Regions from separate parts of the Homo sapiens genome. Here all the other regions are linked to region 1. The links are contacts of gene promoters, found by promoter capture Hi-C in blood cells and fetal thymus (Javierre and others, 2016). All regions are on one chromosome and are shown on one strand. The core of a region is centred on a gene start or on the middle of the fragment in contact, and the rest is flanking DNA. Distances in the headings are between cores, read along the strand shown.

Evidence for each region. The method cuts DNA at HindIII sites, captures the fragments that hold promoters and counts their contacts. A CHiCAGO score of 5 or more calls a contact.
Region 2: a fragment that was not itself captured here is called in contact with the fragment with the promoter of SASS6 in region 1 in 4 of 17 cell types (fetal thymus, naive CD4 T cells, activated CD4 T cells and 1 more); the score reaches 12.7 in fetal thymus.
Region 3: a fragment that was not itself captured here is called in contact with the fragment with the promoter of SASS6 in region 1 in 2 of 17 cell types (erythroblasts and fetal thymus); the score reaches 6.0 in erythroblasts.

The regions. Positions count from the first base shown.
Region 1 is chr1:100,130,539-100,134,709 of GRCh38, forward strand. SASS6 (SAS-6 centriolar assembly protein) reads right to left here and starts at 2,392. Exons shown (of 17, transcript NM_194292.3): 1 at 2,212-2,392. The coding sequence starts at 2,276. It overlaps TRMT13 (tRNA methyltransferase 13), which reads left to right and starts at 2,625. Exons shown (of 11, transcript NM_019083.3): 1 at 2,625-2,777. The coding sequence starts at 2,631. RefSeq lists enhancers at 350-399, 2,173-2,775, 2,180-2,299, 2,310-2,839 and a silencer at 2,014-2,177. The HindIII fragment of the contact is 1,832 bases long and covers 740-2,571 here.
Region 2 is chr1:101,310,574-101,314,744 of GRCh38, forward strand. No RefSeq gene overlaps it. Among named protein-coding and RNA genes, the nearest start is that of LINC01307, 11 kb to the right of the region's middle. RefSeq lists an enhancer at 1,705-1,784. The HindIII fragment of the contact is 3,376 bases long and covers 402-3,777 here.
Region 3 is chr1:101,255,126-101,259,296 of GRCh38, forward strand. It overlaps the pseudogene RPS20P6. Among named protein-coding and RNA genes, the nearest start is that of S1PR1, 20 kb to the left of the region's middle. The HindIII fragment of the contact is 6,994 bases long and covers 1-4,171 here.

The DNA.
Region 1 (4,171 bases), core at 1,142-3,641:
AAAAGCCAGGCGTGGTGGTATGCGCCTGTAATTGCAGCTACTCAGGAGGCTAAGGTGAGGGGAACCCTTGGGCCCAGGAGGTCAAGGCTGCAGTGAGCTGTAATCGTGCTACAATACTCCAGTCTGGGCAACAGAGCGAGACTCTGTCTAGAAAAAAAAAAAAAAAGAGAGAGAGAAAGAGAGAGAGTCTGGGTTGTTCTTCCTATAGGTCAAGGATCACCAAATTATTCTGTAAAGGGCCAGATAGCAAATATTTTAGGCTTTGCGGGCCATAAGGTCTCTGTCACAATTACTCATCTCTGCCCTTCCTGTGCAAAAGCAGCTACAATATGTAAACAAATGAGCATGGCTGTATTCCAAGAAAAGTTTATTTACGAAAACAGTGAGCCAACTGGCCCATGTGCTCCAGTTTGCTGACCCCTATTATACAGATAATAGGAATATATTAAAGGTTTCTAAGCAGAGAAATTGAGTTTTTAGATTAACTGTGATGGCAATGTAACCAGAAAGAGACCATCTAGGAGTTTCCATATTGAAACCAAAGTCATGGCCTCCTTTATCTTTCTATAATCATTCTAAAACAGTGTTGTCCAATGGAGATACAATGTAAGCCACAAATGTGAGCCAGGTATGTAATTTTAATTTTTTTCTTTTTCTTTTTTTTTTTTCAGAGACAGGATCTCGCTCTATCACCCAGGCTGGAGTACAGTGGCACAAATAGTAGCTCACTGTAACCTCAAGCTTAGGCTCAAGCAATCCTCCTGTCTTGGCCTCCTAAAGTGCTGGGACTACGGGTGTGAGCCACCATACCTAGCCTACTTTTAAATTTTCTAGAAGTCACATTTTAAAAAGACTTTTAAAAGCAGGTGAAATTAATTTTAATAATACATTGTATTTAACCCAATATACCCAAAAATATTGCCATTTAACACATAATATAAAAATTGACATATTTTACATTCTTTTTTCATAGTAAGTCTTAAAAATCCAACGTGCATTTTCATATGTAAAGCACAACAATTCAGATAAGCCCCATTTCAAATGTCTAATAACCACATGTGGCTAGTGGCTACCATACTGGACAGCATTAAAAGAATGATCAACTAAACCTACAGATCTCCATATGCAGCTGCTGGTTTTGGGACCATCTCCTTGACCGGCTTGCCATTGATTTTTGACCGAATTCTGAACTATATATACTACAGTTTGACATTACTGGCAACTCAATAAGGCAATGTCTTCATTTTTTATGTTACATTTGTACACCACTTAGTTTTCACATACGATTTCACACCTGATCCTCATTACAAACACGTGAATACGCAAAAGATTTCACACCTGATCCTCATTACAAACACGTGAATACGCATGTTATATCAGTTTTACAAATGAGGAAAGAACGTTCAGAGAAAAAAAGAGACAACCATTGAGTGTTAGAACTGAGAAAAAAAAAGTAAGTCTCCTGACCTCTGGTCAAATCTATTTACGCCCCAATAATACCACCTCCTTAATCAAAGTTGCACTTCTCTGTGCGACTGGTCTTTATTTCCTCCAGTGATTGTAAACTCCATGAAGAAAAGGACTGTTTTTCCTGACCACTGTATTCCCAGTGCCCAGTAAGGTGTTTTACAAGGAGGCAATATTTATTGAATGAATTAATGACGTTTCTGCTTTTCTCATTTTTAGTCGGTTAAATGTAATTTACTTTTTTAAAGCAACTGATGTGAAGAGCCAAAGTACGCCACCAAATTGGTAGGTTTTTAAAAGTTGAACTTTACTGCCAACATACTTCAAAAGAGAACGAGGGGGAAAGGCTCGGAGCCAAGGCCTGAGTTCTAGTCCTGACCCTGCCATGAACTGGCTGTGAGCCCTCACGTAAATTTTTTTAACTTCTCTGGGCCAGAGTTCTTATCTGTCAAAAGGGAAGAGTAGGGCTATAATCTTCACGATTCCGTGCACAGGTAGGGTTTTTGACATTAACTTGATGTGAGCCGGCTTCCTAACTCCTCACACCCTTCCTCCAGTCCCCTCTGCAACGGCCGACTTGGTGAGAGAGGTAACCACCGGGCCCTCTGGGTTCCCTATCCGCTTCCTAGGGGGGCCGACTCGACACCTAGGTGCAAGGTGGATCCCACGGGCCAGAACCGCCATCTTTCCCCATTGGCCTGACCCCAACCGCCACCCGCGGGCACTGGATGACGCGGACCTTACCTCTCCTCACAGTCTTTGCATTTCACCTGCAACGGGACTAGTTGGTGGAACAGCACTTGGCTCATGTTGGCTCGCTGCCTCGGCTGGTGTGCAGAAAAGCCCAACAGGCCCGGCCCTCGGGATTAGCCTGAGAGGTCCGGGTCCTGATAAAGTTTGAGTTTGGCGCTCGGCTTCTGCGGAGGAGGCGGGGAGGGAGAAACGAGGGGAAGGCGTAAGAGACTTGGCCCTCGCCAGCCACCATCGGATTCTTCCGGTTCTGCGGAGGATAAAGGGAAGACGGTTGTGGTAGTTCCGGGTATTAACCTGTGTGGCGCGGGGGCTGAGGCAGCCATGTTTGTTAAGGGAAGGAGACCCGAAGGAAGCTTCTAACTTTTCTTCTGGTTGCCGGATGCTGGACACCGGAAGCGAGCCCTAGAATTATGGCGACCTCCGCGACGTCGCCGCACGCGCCTGGTTTTCCAGCTGAGGGTAGATGCGGTTACTATGTGGAAAAGAAGAAACGGTTCTGCAGGATGGTGGTGGCCGCAGGGAAAAGATTTTGTGGTGAACACGCTGGAGCCGCGGAGGTGTGGTATCGCCCTACTCTCTCAAGAGTCGGAAATAAGTATCCTGGTCCTGTCGGTGCTGGAACCCGGCCCCTCCCCTCTTTGACAGCTTTCTGCTTGTGTCCCCTGGATTCTCCAGCTTTCACTTTAATAAACCCAGTTTTGCCCTCCTTGCGGAGCGATTATGAGTTCTAGTGATGAGAAATTTTTTATTTTTCTAAGTAAAGCGCCAGCAGTGACCCATTTATTTTGATCTATTTATCTCGATCTTAACTCATGGTAATGCTAGGTTTTAATTTTTACCCCAAGCTACCGCTCCGTCTTCCTGCTGGAAAGTGGTAGTTTAGAAAAAGTAGTGATTGAAGTCCCAAAGGTTTCACTAGTTGTGTTCTAATTGTTATTTCATGAAAGAGAAGCACTTCTCGTGAATGCGGTTGGAAGAAACTTTCTTTTAAAAATTTAGACTTGAGGCCCGGCGCGGTGGCTCACGCCTGTAATCCCAGCACTTTGGGAGGCCGAGGCGGGCGGATCACTTGAGGTCAGGAGCTCGAGACCAGCCTGGCCAACATGATGAAACCCTCTCTCTACTAAAAATAAGAAAATCAGCCGTGGCGCGAGCTACTAAAATTAAGAAAATCGTGGTGGTGCGAGCCTGTAACCCCAGCTACTCGGGAGGCTGAGGCAGGAGAATCGCTTGAACCCAGGAGGTGGAGGTGGCAATAATCCAAGATCACACCACTGCATTCCAGCCTGGGTGACAGCCAGACTGAATCTCAAAAAAGAAAAAAAAATTTTTTTCGACTTACAGTTTTTAAGAATGCAACTTTGCTGGAATGGGAAGGAAAGATTTTTAAATATATACGAATTGACCTTTTACAATTGAGAACAAAGCATACAATTTTGTTTGATAATTATGCATATAAATGTACTATCAAACACTTTATATTTGTATATATGTATATTACTTTAGGATATATATGAGATGGGAAAATAAAAACCAGAGGAGCAAAATGCTCATAGGAAGAGAGCATGTCCTTATAGTTCCACAGAACTATAAAGAATAAACCAAAGCGATCAGCATCAGATTTCATGCTTCTGAATGTTCAGTATTATTTGCATTATTTTATTTCTTAAGGAATTTATTCTTCTAGACAATATCCAGTGCAGATCAGTCCCCTGACCCCCTTCATCTGCCACTCTCCATCATAGTTGTAGTCTACTTCCTATTTTGTTTTGACTGGCATTTACCAAAAGTGAAGCATACTGAAACAAGGACATTCTTGTTTTGGAATATGGGAGACGTGATTTGTTGTGGGAACTCTGAATTATGCCCATAGTCTATTGACTGGTTTTGAGGGGACTGGCAAACATCCCTTGTTGAAGAATGAGAGTTATGATAGGAGAAGGATTTAGAC
Region 2 (4,171 bases), core at 840-3,339, 1.2 Mb after region 1:
CTCAGTTTACACTGGGATGCTCATATATTTATTCTAAACAAGAAATTCAAATGGAAAAGGCTTCACTGTGCAGGAGAGACAGGAAAAGGAAGAGTGAAATCGTTGAGAGCACGGGTTTTGGTTTTGTGGTGACAGATTCAAGGCAATGAACACACATGATGTTTTGCTCCTCAGGGCCAGGTTGTCTCCAGTGTGTAGTGTATACACATTTAAATGATGGTTTGTAACTGCAGAGTTGTTATCTTGACTTTAGAATAATAAGAAAGAAAATAGAGAAAATGCAAGGGATACTCCACAGCTGTTCTTGATTTGTCACTGTGATACAATCTAGTTTTTTTGTTGTTGTATAGTTTATTTGTTTTATGGTTTTTGCCCTCCCTCACAATGGTCTAAAATTCTGAAGCTTCTCTGTCAGTTTCTGGATAACAGGGAACCATGTCTTCCTACCCTCATTTTGTTTTCATTTCCACAAATTGAAGGTAAAGGTATTTCCCTTCCACTTCATGCCAAGAAGTCAATGCTTGCTGCTGCATCCCCAGAAGAGTGTGACACGTATTAGGAGCTCAAGAAATATTTCCTAAATAAATAAACAATCCCAAGGCTTGTGCTCTTTCCACTGTGCCAACTTCCTTTTGCATCTTGATCCTTCTCACATGGCAACACCTTTTCAACACCTTTTCTGGGTAGGGACCTTCCCCCTCACTAACCACCCAGAGGTTAGACTCCTCTTGGGAGTCAGAAGATTGTGCTGCTTGCTCAAGATCCAGATGGCTTGCACTGTGCAGCTCACAGTAGATCTCTGTCATGCCTTCCAGCTGTCAAAATCCCAGTGGGATACTCTGGCTGGTCCACTTCCAGCTTCTTTCCCTGTCTGACCCCCTTTATAGGCTATATGCCTGGGATCTCCTTGCTCATGTCAAAGTGGGGAAGACGTGGCTTCTGTGGACTTGATGGTCCTACTGAGAAAAGCCAGATGAAACTTCGCTTGAAAGACTAGGGATAAGAAAGCCTACTTGGCATGACAGCATCCAAAATCCATTTGTTGGTCACAAGTTCTGAGATGGTTAATTGTATGTGTCAACTTGACTGGGCTGAGGGATGGCTGGGTAAAGCTGATAAACATAGTTTCCGCTGCTCCACCTGCAACTCTGAGTATTGCCTTCTCTTTAACTGCCACTTTGATACCGCAGCCTTTTGAAGTCCTTTTTCCTATATGTATTTGTAATTTATTTCTGCAACAGTCAATGAGGGTGCAATTACCATTTGAATCAGAAGACCAAGTAAAGAAGGTCCATACTTACCAATGTAGGTGGGAATCATCCAATAATCTGTTCAGTACCTGAGTAGAACAAAGGTAGGGGAAGGAGTTTGCCACCTTTTGCTTCCTGCCTGGTTGCTTGAGCAAGGACGTTGGTCTTTCCCTGCCCTTGTATATATCCTATTGGTTCTATTCCTCTGGAGAACCCTGATTAAATACAAGATTCTTGGGCTCGGTCATTTGAATGTTTCCAGTGGTTTCACCCAGATTCCTTTTAGCATCTATTTAAGTCATTGTGTTTCTAGTGTCCCATGCCCTGTGGTGAAAACTTCTGGGTTCGGGGGGTTGGGTTGGCTTAGGGCTAGGACTGGGCCAGAAATTCAGGGACACGCTACTTGGCTGCTTCCTCCAGCAGCCTGGGCAAGGCCCCTGAGCCTCCTCCTGAACCAATTTTTCAGCCTGACCTGAAATTCTTGTCCAGAACATTAGGACAGTGGGATCTTTAAGCTGGGAGCTTTGATGTTACTTCATGGAGTTCGCCTGTGATGGTTTCCCTTTCACTTTGTAGTAACTCTAAGAGTAGGTTCTAGGAACTAGGTTCTTGCCCGATTCTTTGTGTCTAAGCTCTGCTTATACTGCTGTTCTGGTAACTGAGTCCTAGTCTTGTTACCTACAGGGCCTGAGCTCCTGAACCCTTTCCCTGTACAGGGATCATGGCTCACTGTAGCTTCAAACTCCTGGGCTCAAGGGATCCTCCTGCCTTAGCCTCCCAAAATGCTGGGATTACAGGCATGAGCCACAGCACCTGCCCTCACCTTCTGGCATTTTTTGATCACCTTCTCTCGCCTTCCTTGTGCCCAGTTATCCTGGGACCAGAGTCTTGCTCCTAAATGCTGGACGCTGTGCTGGGTGTCTATTTCTGGGTTCTTCTGATACAATTACTTGGCTCTCTGAGGCAGTGCTCCAGCTGCCCGTCTACCCTGTTGGATGCAACTGGACTTCATGATGTCAGTACTCCCAGGGACTTCTTCCTAGTACTGACTTCACCCAAACAGGTCTGCGTGCCTTCAGGTCCCAGCTGTCCTAGTTTGGCTCATCACTTCAGTCTCACCCCTTCTGACTTTCACACACCTTCAGAGAGACTTCCTTGAGACAGGGTCTTGCTCTGTTGCTCAGGCTGGAGTGCAGTGGTGAGATCATAGCTCGCTGCAACCTCAAACTCCTGGGCTCAAGAGATCTTCCCACCTCAATCGCCCAATTAGCTAGGACTACAGGTATGTGCCAACATGCCCAGCTAATTTTTTATTTTTTTGGAGAGACAGGGTTTCTCTATTTTGCCCAGACTGGTCTTGAACTTCAAGGGCTCAAGTGATCCTCTTACCTTGGCCTTCCAAAATGTTGGGATTACAGGTGTGAGCCACTGCACCTTGCTTAGAGACACTTTCTTTAGAAAAGATTCAGAACACCAATTTGTCCCTAGCACCATTCAGTTTAAAACCCTTCAAAGGTTCCTCATTCCCTTTCAAAGAAAGTTCAAATTCCAAGTTATAATCATCCTTTACCAGATTGTAGTATGATACAGTTTTGTGTAGTGGCTAAGAGCACAGATCCTAGGTTCAGACTGCCTACATTCAAATTCAGGGGCTCCCTTTTAAGCCAGTTGATGTTTCTCAATCTGGGTCCTTGGACAATAGCCAAACAGCAGCAGCAAGCCTCTCCTATCTGCTTGCACACAGGTGGCACAAATTGCTATTGTTTCTATGACAACTGATGGCTTTTTTCCCCCATTTCATAAAAGCCGCCTGTATGGTGGACAGCAGCATGTGGAAGAAATGTGCTAGGCAGGGACTAGCCTGGTAGAACGCCCAAGCAACGTATACCGCGATTTTATTGTCTTCACCAGTCGTGGCTCTTTGTCTCCGAGTTCTGTCATATACTAGCTGTGTGAACTTGCTCTTGGGACTCAGTTTCCTTACCTATAAAATGGTGCTATTTACTCTTAAGGTAGTCAAGAGAATTAAATGAGTTGATATACCTAAAACACTTAGAACAGAATTTGACACATCATAGGCTGTTAGCTGTTATCATTTTTCAAGATTGAATCTCTAGCTGTCCACTTTTACCACATGTTCCACCTAGAGTGAACCACCAGTATTCCCCTTGAACATATCATGGTTTATGTTTATACCTGTTTATGTGTTATTTCAACAACTTGTCTTTCAAAACCCAGCAGGATTTCGGCTTAAGAGAAGTCTTCTTTTGCTTCCTATATGATTTAGATGATTCTACCATACTACACAAGCAACATCTACTATCACGCCATCTTTTAACCTGTAATTGACCTATTCTTTCACCTGCAATACAGGAGTCATCTTCAGAGGAAGGGATGCTTCTCAGTGTTTGAGTCTACAGCACCTAGAACAGTGTTTGCGGAGAGTGAATACTCATTCAGCGAAAGGATTCCATTGCTTGTAAAGTTATGATTATGACCTTGGTTTCCTCAGCTATTAAAGGAGCCAAGCTTGACCCTCCTTTAGCATGACCCAGAGTGGTTCAAGCCAGGAGCTGCTCTGACACTGACTCAGTCCCTGGGTGGTGATGACTCACTGCTGGGGCTTTACCTTCCAGAGCCTCTTCTGATAGATGGGATTTTCTGAAACTTCTTTCCTCCCATTGGATCCATGATTCCAGCACTGTCCTCCACAGCTCAGGGAGAGGGTGCTTTGTTCTGTGGACTGTGCAAAGACCTTCTTGCTGTAGAATGTGTGACTATGACTGAGCTATTCTCAGAGGCTCATCAGAAGTGCTAGAAGAAATACCTTGATTGTCAGAGACGTTTAGTTACCTATAAATATCTCTTTCCTCTTTTACTTAGCAGCAGTAATTTATTCAAAGTAGCAATGAATCCAGCCT
Region 3 (4,171 bases), core at 1,079-3,578, 1.1 Mb after region 1:
ATCTCAGTCTCCCAGGTAGCTGGGGCTTAGTGGGCACCACCATGCCCCGCTAATTTTTTTTTTTTTTTTGTAGCGATGTGGTCTTGCCATGTTGTCCATGCTGGTCTTGAAATTTTGAGCTCAAATGATCTGCCTGTCTCCCAAAGTGCTAGGATTACAAGTGTGAGCCACAGCACCCAGCCAGGAAGAATCGTTTTTGCAGTGGGACTCTGGTCACCCAACGAACATCAGGATCTTTCTTGTAATATAAAGCAGAATGGAGAAATATCAATGGAATTTCTAGTATATGAAGATTTTTCCCTGCATACGAGGAAATATATTAAGTCAGAGTAGTCAGTTTGGCCTGTGTTTGAATTCTGTCTCTACCGCACACTAGGTATGTGGCCCTGGAGAAGTTATTCAACCTAGCTGAAATGCAGTTCATTTCTTTGTAAAATAGTGATAGGCTGGCTTGGTGGCTCACACCTGTAATCCTAGCACTTTGGGAGGCCGAGGCGGGCAGATCCCTTAAGGTCAGGAGTTCGAGACCAGCCTGGCCAACATGGTGAAACTCTGTCTCTACTAAAAATACAAAAAATTAGTCGGGTGTGGTGGCATATGCCTGTAATCCCAGCTATTTGGGAGGCTGAGGCAGGAGAATAGCTTGAACCTGGGAGGCAGAGGTTGCAGTGAGCCGTGATCACGCCACTGCACTCCAGCCTGGGTGATAGAGTGAGACTCAGTCTCAAAAAAAAAAAAAAAAAAAGAATCGCTGATCTGCCAGCTCCTGCTCCTGACTCACCACTGTTCGCTCTTGTGAGGAACAGTTGGTCAGGAAGCCGCGCAGCAGCCATGGCTTTTAAGAATACCGGGCACTTTGGGAGGCCGAGGTGGACGGATCACAAGGTCAGGAGATCGAGACCATCCTGGCTAACACGGTGAAACCCCGTCTCTACTAAAAAAAAAAAAAAAAAAAAAAAAAAAAAAAAAAAAAAAATTAGCCGGGCATGGTGTGGCAGGTTCTTGTAGTCCCAGCTACGCAGGAGGCTGAGGCAGGAGAATGGCGTGAACCCGGGGGGCGGAGCTCGCAGTGAGCCGAGATCACGCCACTGCATTCCAGCCTGGGGGACAGAGCGAGACTCCATCTCAAAAAAAAAAAAAAAAAAAAAAAAAGAATTCCGGAAACACACTCGTGGAGCCAGAGGTGGCAATTCACCGAATTCGAATCACTGTAACAAGCCGCAAAGTAAAATCCCTGGAGAAGGTGTGTGCTGACTTGATCAGAGGAGCAAAGGAAAAGAATCTCAAAGTGAAAGGACCAGTTCGAATGCCTACCAAGACTTTGAGAATCACTACAAGAAAAACCCCTTGTGAATGTTCTAAGACATGGGATTGTTTCGGGATGAGAATCCACAAGCGACTTATTGACTGGCACAGTCCTTCTGAGATTGTTAAGCAGGTTACTTCCATCAGTATTGAGCCAGGAGTTGAGGTGGAAGGCACCATTGCAGATGCTTAAGTAAGCCATTTTAATAAATTGATTACAAGTTGTTAAAAAAATAAAATAATGATAATAACTAACTTCAAAGACTGTTGTGTGATTTAAATAGGATTATATTTGGCCAGGTGCAGTGGCTCATGCCTGTAATCCCAGCACTTTGGGAGGCCTAGGCAGGCGACTCATGAGGTCAGGAGATCGAGACCATCCTGGCTAACACGGTGAAACCCCATCTCTACTAAAAAAAAACCAAAAAATTAGCCGGGTATGGTGGCATGCGCCTGTAGTCCCAGCTACTTGGGAGGCTGAGGCAGGAGAATTGCTTGAACCTGGGAGGTGGAGGTTGCAGTTTGCTGAGATCGCACCACTGCACTCCAGCCTGGGTGACAGAGTGAGACTCTGTCTCAATAAATAAATAAATAAATAGAATTATATTTTTTAATGTCTGGCCCAAGATAGATGATAGTCAACAAATGTTCATTTACTCATTCATTTAACGCATATTTATGAAGCATCTACTATGCTCCATGTACTGCCATTAGAGCAGTGAGCAAAATAGACAAAACCCTTGCCACGATCAGTTCCCTCTCTTCTTTTTCCTACTTTACACTGACCCTCCCCACTAAAGCCAGGCCGCATTAGATGAATATTCCTGCTTTTTCAAAGAATTCATTCCGTTGGAAGTTCTGCTAGTCAACAACTATGTTTTGTGCTCAGATTCTCTTTTTGCATGAGATCAAAAAAAGAATGTATGATGAAATTGCAAAATTTGACCTACATTGCAACTTGGATGTGCAGAAAAATGAATTTATTTAGTCTATCCTATTCCGTCTTCCCTCACAGACATTTACGTTCTAGTTAGAAGGGGGAATAACGTTAACTAAATGACTGGTTTAAAATGTAGTCCCAGTCAGTAATTTAATCCATTTGAATGCTTGTTCTGCCTCCTTTGGATAAAAATGGTGAGGCTAAAACCAAACAATACAAAAACAAAAAAAAGCTGAGGCTAGGCCAGGCATGGTGGCTCATGCCTGAAATCCCAGCACTCTGGGAGGCCAAGATGGGCAGATGGCTTGAGCTCAGGAATTGGAGACCAGCCTGGGCAGCATGGCAAAACTCCATCACTACAAAAAACACAAAAATGAGCTGGGAGTGGTGGTGTGAACTTGTAGTCCCAGCTACTTGTGGGGACTGAGGCAGGAGGATAGCTTGAATCCGGGAGGTCGAGGTTGCAGTGAACCTAGATTGTACCACTGCACTCCAACCTGGGTGGCAAAGTGAAACTCTGTCTGAAAAAAAAAAAAAAAATTACTGAGGCTCTCAGGCTCTTCCTCTTCTGCTTGCCTAGAGTCCTGGGGAAGGGCTGAGGTCTATGCAACCTCATGTTGGTGGGGAGGAGGTGGTGTCCTCAGCCACAGTTCCCTGCTTGCCTTGGCTCTCCTCCAGCCAATTATCTCCTTCTCATTTGGTACTGCTTGCCCTGGGGTGATTGCTTGAGTGGGTGTGACCTGTGGTTGGTCTCACTGGGTCTGGTTAAAGTCCTGTTGTGTGCTCTGGCTGACCTGCCCTCATTTCAGTTTCCCCTGGTGCTAGAGATCCCTTTGAAGTTTGGTTGGCCTTTCATCCAGCCCTGGCTTTACCTGCCTCTGATAAGCAGAGAGGCTTGCTCTTTCTGAGTCCTCTCTACCTCGCTCTGACTGACCATGTCTGACCTACCTAGGGGTGGGCTTGGTCCCTAGGTTTGTATGGGAGCATGCCACACACAGAGCCCCCTCTTTTGAGTTCATGAGGAGTCTTTTTAATAGTGGCCCCCACTCTGCCTTTGGAGTTAACTTTGCTTCCCTTGTGCCCCTTTCCCTACCTGGGCCAAACTCAGAAGAGCTGGGGGAGGGGAGATTAGGACAACCTTCACCAGTTCATTTCCCTCTCTCTCTGCTTTCCACAGTTCTCCACACTAACAAAGGGCTAGTCTGTCTGTCTTTCTTTCTTTCTTTCTTTCTTTCTTTCTTTCTTTCTTTCTTTCTTTCTTTCTTTCTTTCTTTTTCTTTCTTTCTTTCTTTCTTTCTATTCTATCTTCTTCCTGACTCTTCCTAGCTTAATCTTAATGACAAGCAGGTTACCTTCTTTTTATTTTTGTTTTTAAACCACATTGATCTGAAATCTCCATGCTTGGTTGTTAAAATACTAATGCCTCACAAGGGAGTTCAGCAAATCCCTTTTCAAGAGGCTTGTATAAACCTACTTTCTGAAAGACAGAAGCAGAATGTTACTCATTCTCTTGTTCTTCTTCTATAATAAATTCAGACTCTCCATCTGGGCAAGTCATTGGCTAGGGCAGACTAATGTGAAGGTTTCTACTCAAGGAGGCAAAAAAAATGCATTTTAATATTCAAAATTTTACTTGTTACAGAAGCATGGCTGGTGCCTTAAGGAACTCATTGTTTATTAGCTTTATGGTTCTCTGACTATCCAGGTGACTGGACTGCACCCAGGTGTTGGCGGCCCTGGAACTTGTCTGTCTGTCTGTTGATTTGGAATTGACAGTGGTTGCAGACCTTTAAGTCAAACCTTTCCTCTTGATCCCAATGTGCCCTTCGCTTTCTCTAAAAGGTTCTCCCTTCCTCTTATTTTTCCTTATCCTCTTCTCCATCTTTGCTGTCAGATCTCTCTCTCTCTTTCTTTATCCTGCACTTG